Regions from separate parts of the Homo sapiens genome. Here region 2 is linked to region 1. Evidence: promoter capture Hi-C in 16 types of primary human blood cells and fetal thymus (Javierre and others, 2016). All regions are on one chromosome and are shown on one strand. Each heading gives the region's core, a stretch centred on a gene start or on the middle of the fragment in contact. The rest is flanking DNA. Distances are from core to core; before and after follow the strand shown. Region 1 holds the start of SEPTIN9 (septin 9). Region 2 overlaps TNRC6C (trinucleotide repeat containing adaptor 6C).

Region 1 (3,420 bases), core at 331-2,830:
AGGCCTCCTGAGCCTCTAACCCCCAGATAAGGAAAGGGGTGGACTCAGTTGAAGTCCAGTGTCCACTCCGGTCCAATCAGCTCTACCTGGGGTGAGGGGAAACTCCTCTGGCTGGGCTGCTCCCTCTGCAGGGCTGTGGCTGGACAGATTACTCAAGAAAGGAAGCAGGTGGGCCGGAACGAACCCACGGTGCCACATAGGCCTCCGTTCTCATGCATATAAGTTTCCCACACTCAGGCAGGAAATGAAAATGCTTCTTGGACCCCCAAGGAGAGTAAAGGAGAGGGGAAGAGGAGGAGGATTTTTCGGGGCTGTTAGTGACACTTTCAGCCTCCTGTGCATTTTTGGGAGGGCTGCAGGAGAAGGCAATGCTGCGCCCCTACCCAGAACTAGCGAGCGCTTCCCAACTGGCCTCCCGCCTTCCTCTCGTCCTCTACGGCCTCCATTGGCAGCTGTGCAAGGGCCCGGCCCTGCCTCTGTCTCTCCACACTCGCTGTGATACCTCAGGCCTCCCAGGCTCCGCCACGCCCTTCCCTCTTTCGGGAACAGCTGCCTTCCATCACCTTGGCTGCCTGGCTAATTCCTGCTCATTCCTTAAAACCCTGTTTTGATTTCGCCTCAATAAAACTCTGACACCACCCTCCAGTCATAATTAGTCACTTCTTCCTCTGTACGTTGGAAACACCGCTTTATCGTGGAGACTTTAAGGATATCCAAGTAGAGAGAATTCTTCCGTGCAAGTTTTGCATCCTCTCACCACTGCCTGCGTTACCCGAGTTGTAAAGGGCGGCTCCCTGTGTCTGCCCCGCTGCACCGATACACCGAGCTGCGCACGGTGCCCAGCGCAGGGAGAACAAATGATCATCTGTCCAACGCGCCCATTTACAGGTGAGGAAACTAAGGCTCCAACTCAATCGACGCACTCTGCCCTTTTGATTACCAGAAAAGTAGCAGGACAGGTGTCCTGTCCCGCCCTACCCCGGCCCACTAAGCCGGCACCCCGGCTCCGACCCCCGGCTGTGCCCGGCGCCGCCGCGGTGCCCGGCGCCGCCGCCTCGCCCGGCGGGGCCGCCCGGAGCGCCCGCACCTCCGCCCGCTTCCACCTGGCCGGGCCCGCCCCGCCCGGACTCGGGACTGGGAAGTGCGGCGACTCCCGGAACCAGCCATTGGCGCCAGCGCGGGGAGCTGGGGGTGCAGAGCTGCGGGCGCGGCGGGCCACGCAGGCGGCCCCCACCCCCGGCCTGGCCTGGTCTGGTCTGGTCTGCGCTGCCGCGCGGGGGCGCCCCCTCCCAGGCCCGGCGCCCGCCAGCCCCGCTCCGCCAGGTGCAGCGCAGCGCAGGGGTGGGCGGGGGTGGGGCTCGGCGCGCACGTTCACGGGGCGGGGAGGGGGCGGGTCAGGGGCGGGACCACAGCCGGCTGGGCCGGGGTTCTATGCGCATCTCCGGGGAGGGGCGGGGCGGGGGCGGGGCCGGGGCGGGGCCCGGTCGGTGCACTCCAGACGGCGGGCCGCCCCCTCTTCCCGCCTTCCTACTACCGGCCCAGGATTAGCGCCCTGGGAGCGCGCGCCCCGCTGCCTCGCCGCCACACTTTCCTGGGAGCGGCGGCCACGGAGGCACCATGAAGAAGTCTTACTCAGGTGGGCTTCGCGCCCGGGGTGGGGAGGGGTCGGTGTCCCGGGACCAGCGCTGCTCACCTGAGTGCCTGCGGCCGGGAGTGGCGAGGCGCCCCCGGAGCTGAGCGAGTCCCCGCGGCGGGCACACTGCAGGTCGAGTTCCTCCCAGGACAGGGCCGCTGTCGGGCCGCTTTCGACCTGAGCCGACCGTCCCCTGCGCTGTCTCCAGCCCTTGCTCGAGTGTCGGAGGGGCTGCCCTGGGGGACGCTCCCTCTTCCTCGCCCCTTGCACCCTCGCAGGAATCGCTGACTTTCCAGGTCGGCCGGGTGCTTTGGGTCCCTGTGCGTCTGTGTGGGTGAATGGGGTCGGGGCTAGGTGGAGGGGTGTCCTTGGGTTCAGCCTCTAGGGCTGGTGGTCCAGGCCGCAGCATCCTTTCTTCGGATTCTCTTCGGTTTCTCCTCTACTTAGTGGGGCACGGGACGGCCTCCAGATGGGACCGTCCAGCAGCGCCCAAACTTGGCGACTCGGGTTCACGTTTTGCGCTCAGGACGCCGCCCGCGGCTGACATCCTCACTCCACCCTAGCAGGGCCCGCCTTAAGTAGGCGAAGGGGGCCTGACTTGGGCCTCACCATGAGCCGGTTCAGGAGCTTTCATTTCATAAGAGGCTCCCGCTCTGGCACTCTGAAGTTCCATTTCACAGATGGGCACACCGAGGCCACAAGGGCAGGTTAAGAGAAATCCAGATCTTCATTATTTGTCTTTTCCTTCCTTTTTTTTTTCCTTTGTGGTTTTCTCCAAAGGATCCAGGCAGGCAGGATCCTTTGTCCTCCTCAGTCCTCAAATTATAAATAGCGTCTCCTCTTCTAAATCTAGAAACCGTTTGTTTAATGTCCCTCCTTTAATTCATTCAGATAGAAAGGTACCTGCCAAGGATCCATGAATTAATTTTTATTGATAGGAGAACAGAATCATGGGCCTTAGTTGGAGGTGAAGGAGTCATCGGGGCCATCCCCCTGCCTTTGGGCCATTGTCGGTTTCCTCTGGCTTTCCATATTTAGGAACCAAAATGAGTGATAAAGTACCTTGTCTCAAAGAGGATTACTCAGAACTTCCCCGAAAATACCCTTCTGGGTCAGTAGCTTAGAATTTCAACTTTCACCCGGTTGTTGCGAACAAGATGGCCCTCTACGCACCCGGAGCACAGCTCTGTCAGGAGCGTGGGTGGGTTGGTGTGCTGGTGGGCGGGAGCGGGCTTCCAGGTGGCACATGCTTGGTTTTGGCACCGGGGCTTCCTCCCCAACATGCTCCAAATACTTGAGATTGTTGTGGGGATCGCGCGGTGCATGGCCCTTTCCAGGGGATCTCTAGCCCGCCCAGGGAGGGCCCTTTGCCCTTGGTTTCTTACACTTTACCTCCCACTGGTGGGTCCAGACAGTGGGGGTGACCGGGGTCCTCCCAGGTCGTGGGTCCTGGGTTTTTTCTGCGGAGACCCTCCTGCACAGATGCCGGAAGGGCCCTGAGGCAGGCTTGGAGTCTCTGCACCTGCGGCTTACTGGGAGGTGGGGAGACCATCACTTGTCCTTTTCTCCTCTCCTCCACACACACCTACCCCACCCCTCACTGGGTTTCTTTTTTTTTTTTTTTTTTAAAAAAAAGGACAGAACCTTTTGCAGTAGGTGGAAGTAGAGTTTGTGGAGTGAGCAGGAACCAACTCTTGTACAGCAGCCTCGGTGCCTCCTTGTGTTTACCTAAAGGGGCAGGCCCCTCTGAGGATGGGGGAAGGGAGGGCTCAGACCATTTCTGGTTT
Region 2 (3,420 bases), core at 349-2,848, 740 kb after region 1:
AAGCAAAATGTGGGAATCTCTCTATTTGGCCCTGTTATGACAACACTACCTGAAAATTTTAGCTGAAAGCAGAAAATCCTTGGAAAGAAAATTGTTTTAAAAGACTGTTGCTTTCTTATATAAAGAGTTACCATCTACCTTTTCACCAGCAGATGTCACCCTCATTTAAAAAACAAAAGGCAAAAGCTTACTAGGCAAAGAGTAACCAAAATTTCCATCTTGCTGAAAGTTTTTTAAAATTATATATGTAGTTATTAAATGGTTGCTATCTTAATATTTCTTAAATAAAACAAATGATTTGTTGAAAAATCATAAAGAAACTAAAGTTCCCATTGCCTTCCTGTATTCTCCTGCTGCATGAAAATGCTGATATGCAAAAGGGTAGGTTCCCATGTGAGTCCTTATCTGTGAGGTATGGCCCTAGAGTCAGGTCTTTTTGAAGAAGGGGAATGTCAAGATTGCTTTGATGCCCTGGTTTTTTAGACAGTAATAGACCCATAAGTGAGGATCTGAAAAGAGTTTATGGCTAGACAAAAAAAGAAAATGCCCATTTAATTTATCTGTGTTACAAGAATAGATCCAGATTTTGAGATCTTCCACTTATCCCTTCAGATTATTAAGTGGCTGCTTGATTCAAAGATCCAAAAATTACTGGCTTAAGTCAGAAGGTTTATCACTGCATAATATAAAAGAGACCCAGAGGTGTACAGCTCAACTGGGTCAGAATTCCGCATTCCTCTGTCTGTTGCTTTGCTGAGTGAGGCTTCTCTTCCCTTTTCTTAGGGTCCAGGATGACCTGTAGACTACCAGCCATAGCATTAGCATTGCAAGCTGGAAATATCACTGTGAGAACAAGTACGTGGGTAAACTGAGTGTGCCATGCTTGCATTATACTCCGGGACCCTTGGTCTTTTTATTAATTGAATACATGCTTTGTGGCATTTTTTTCTGTTTGTAAAATAATGTGCTAGTACTTTAGTGTAGAGTAAATAGTTGTAAGGGAAATTCTCCCACCTGAAAAAGCTTGTGATCTGTCACAACTTGTAGTTTCTCAATCTCTGTTTCACTTTCAGTCTTTATGAAAACAGGTAATTATTTAGCGGTTTCTGAGAAACTAGCTTAAACTTTATCCTTTCCAATAATACAATGCCATTTCTAGACCAGCACCATTCAAAAGAAATAATGGAAGCCACAAATGTGAGCCACATGAATCATTTTAAATAGGCTAGTTGCATCATCTAAAAAGTAACAGGCGGAATTACTTTTAATAATGTTTAACTTGATATATCCAAAATATCGCCATTTCAATGTGAAAGCAACAGAAAAATTGTTAATGAGGTATTTCTCTTTTTTTTGGTGCTAAGTCTTTAGAATCCAGTATATGTTTTAATACTAAGTACATCTCAATTTAGACCTCAAGGCTCAATAGCCACACTTGGCCAGTGGCTGCTGTACTGGGCAGCACATGGTCATCCTTCCCCTCTACACTTGTCTGAGATTTCCAGTCAATTGCACAAGCTTTAAATACTCTGTGTGTCTTCTTTATTTCCCCAGTTCATTGTTGATTCACTTAAGTGAGAAACCTAAGTGCTCCAGTGCCTTCCTACGGCAACCAACACAGTCCTGGACTCAGACCAGGAAATTCTTGTTTGACTTTTGGATGTGTTTAGTAGGAAAGAAAGCTTCCTTCAGGCAGCACTGTCCAGTAGGTAGCTGAAGAAGGAGGCTGGACTTGGAGCTCGAGGGCAACACTGGGACAGTACTCAGGCATCAGTAGCACAGAAATGATGGTCAGAATGGTGAGCATGGACAACCTCTCCAGAGAGTCCAGGGCTGGAGAATGAGTACAAAGACTTGAAGTCCATTAGCAGTGAGAGGGCCAGCAGAGCACAAAGGCGTCTCTGAGGGGCACAGGAGGGGCGTGGGCCACGCATTCAGACAAGCCTGATGTGCTTGTGCTCGTTCACTGGTCCTGTTGTGCTCATAGCTCAAGGCTGTTATAAAGTAAAAGCACCTGCGTTTCTAAGAGAGTGATTTCATTTCTCCATACTTAATATGTTCCTGTTTCTTCTTGATAAATAGCATCATTTTAACTTTTCATTCAGTAATCATAAAAAAGATTATGGAGAGGAGACATGGAATAGGTTATTTATTTTTTTATTTTTATTTTCTTGAGATAGAGTCTCACTCTGTCACCCAGGCTGGAGTGCGATGGCGCAGTCTCGGCTCACTGCAACCTCTGCCTCCCTGGCTCAAGTCATTATTCTGCCTCAGCCTCCCAAGTAGCTGGAATTACAGGGGTATGCCACCATGCCCAGCTAATTTTGGTATTTTTAGTAGAGATGGGGTTTCACCATGTTGGCCAAGCTGGTCTTGAACTCCTGACTTCAGGTGATCTGCCTGCCTCGGCCTCCCAAAGTGCTGGGATTAAAGGTGTGAGCCACCATGCCTGGTCTATTTATTTATAATTTTTTAATTAAAATAAAACAATACCTACATAAGACTTTGGGATATATTACCAGGATTTTTCCTCTGGAAGGTTTCTATGTCTGATAGTCTAATATTACAAGTAGTTGGAACTCTATTAGTATCTGGCTCTTTTCCTGTAGGTCTAGCCTTTGGGCCAAAAAGATGCCCAGAGGCAGTGAGACTCTCACCAAGGTCATTCCCAGAATTTTAGACTTTGCTGGCCATATATGGTCTCTGTCATATATTTGTCTTTGAGTTTTTCCCCCATCCTTTAAAAATGTAAGGGGCATTCTTACTTCACCTGCCAGTCCTGCCCTACTCACATAACAGTTATTCAAGGTGGAAAGGGAAGACTGGTTAGGAATACTTTGACTCTTTAAAAATGAGTCTGTCTTAGATATAAGATTGACTACACATAATGCATCAGGCAGGTAGCACACAGGAAACCATATTCCATATCCAAATGTCTTAGAATTTGGTGGTTTATATTGAAAAATGGACTGATAACATTCATCTATGATTTGCTTACTTCTTCCTTTCTGTAGCATGAACTCCTTTTCCTCTGAAGGTTTTGAAGAAAAACAACCCTGAATTTGTCCTTCAGTCATTTAAGAAAGATTAACAGCAGCATGGTGGAAAAGCATGGTCAGAGATGTGAGTTCTAGTCCCAGTGGTAGCTGGGTCAGTCATCTCAGCCATATCATCTCGGTTGCCTGAGTCTGTGCAGATGAGGGTGGGACTGGATGATTTCTAAGGTTCCTGTCAGCTCAAATTCTTTGCTTCTGAGTCCTTGCCTAATTGTTTCCATCAGGTTTTGAGTTCTGGTGCATTTTCTTCATTTCGAGTCTTTTAAAAGGCAAAATGACAAGTAGAAGTACAAGTGTAGTTGGCACTCCTTATCTGTGGCTTCTGCATCCATGGATTTAACTAACTGTCAATCAAAAATATTTG

The links. Contacts are between HindIII fragments. The CHiCAGO score rates a contact against its expected background, and 5 or more counts as called.
Region 2: a fragment that was not itself captured here is called in contact with the fragment with the promoter of SEPTIN9 in region 1 in 4 of 17 cell types (total CD4 T cells, total B cells, total CD8 T cells and 1 more); the score reaches 7.0 in total CD4 T cells.

The regions. Positions count from the first base shown.
Region 1 is chr17:77,279,919-77,283,338 of GRCh38, forward strand. SEPTIN9 (septin 9) reads left to right here and starts at 1,581. Exons shown (of 12, transcript NM_001113491.2): 1 at 1,581-1,636. The coding sequence starts at 1,618. SEPTIN9-DT (SEPTIN9 divergent transcript) reads right to left here and starts at 1,979. Exons shown (of 3, transcript NR_136503.1): 1 at 1,694-1,979. RefSeq lists an enhancer at 1-310 and a silencer at 1,912-2,075. The HindIII fragment of the contact is 6,769 bases long and covers 1-3,420 here.
Region 2 is chr17:78,019,415-78,022,834 of GRCh38, forward strand. The region is part of intron 3 of TNRC6C (trinucleotide repeat containing adaptor 6C); the gene reads left to right. Among named protein-coding and RNA genes, the nearest start is that of TNRC6C, 62 kb to the left of the region's middle. The HindIII fragment of the contact is 164 bases long and covers 1,517-1,680 here.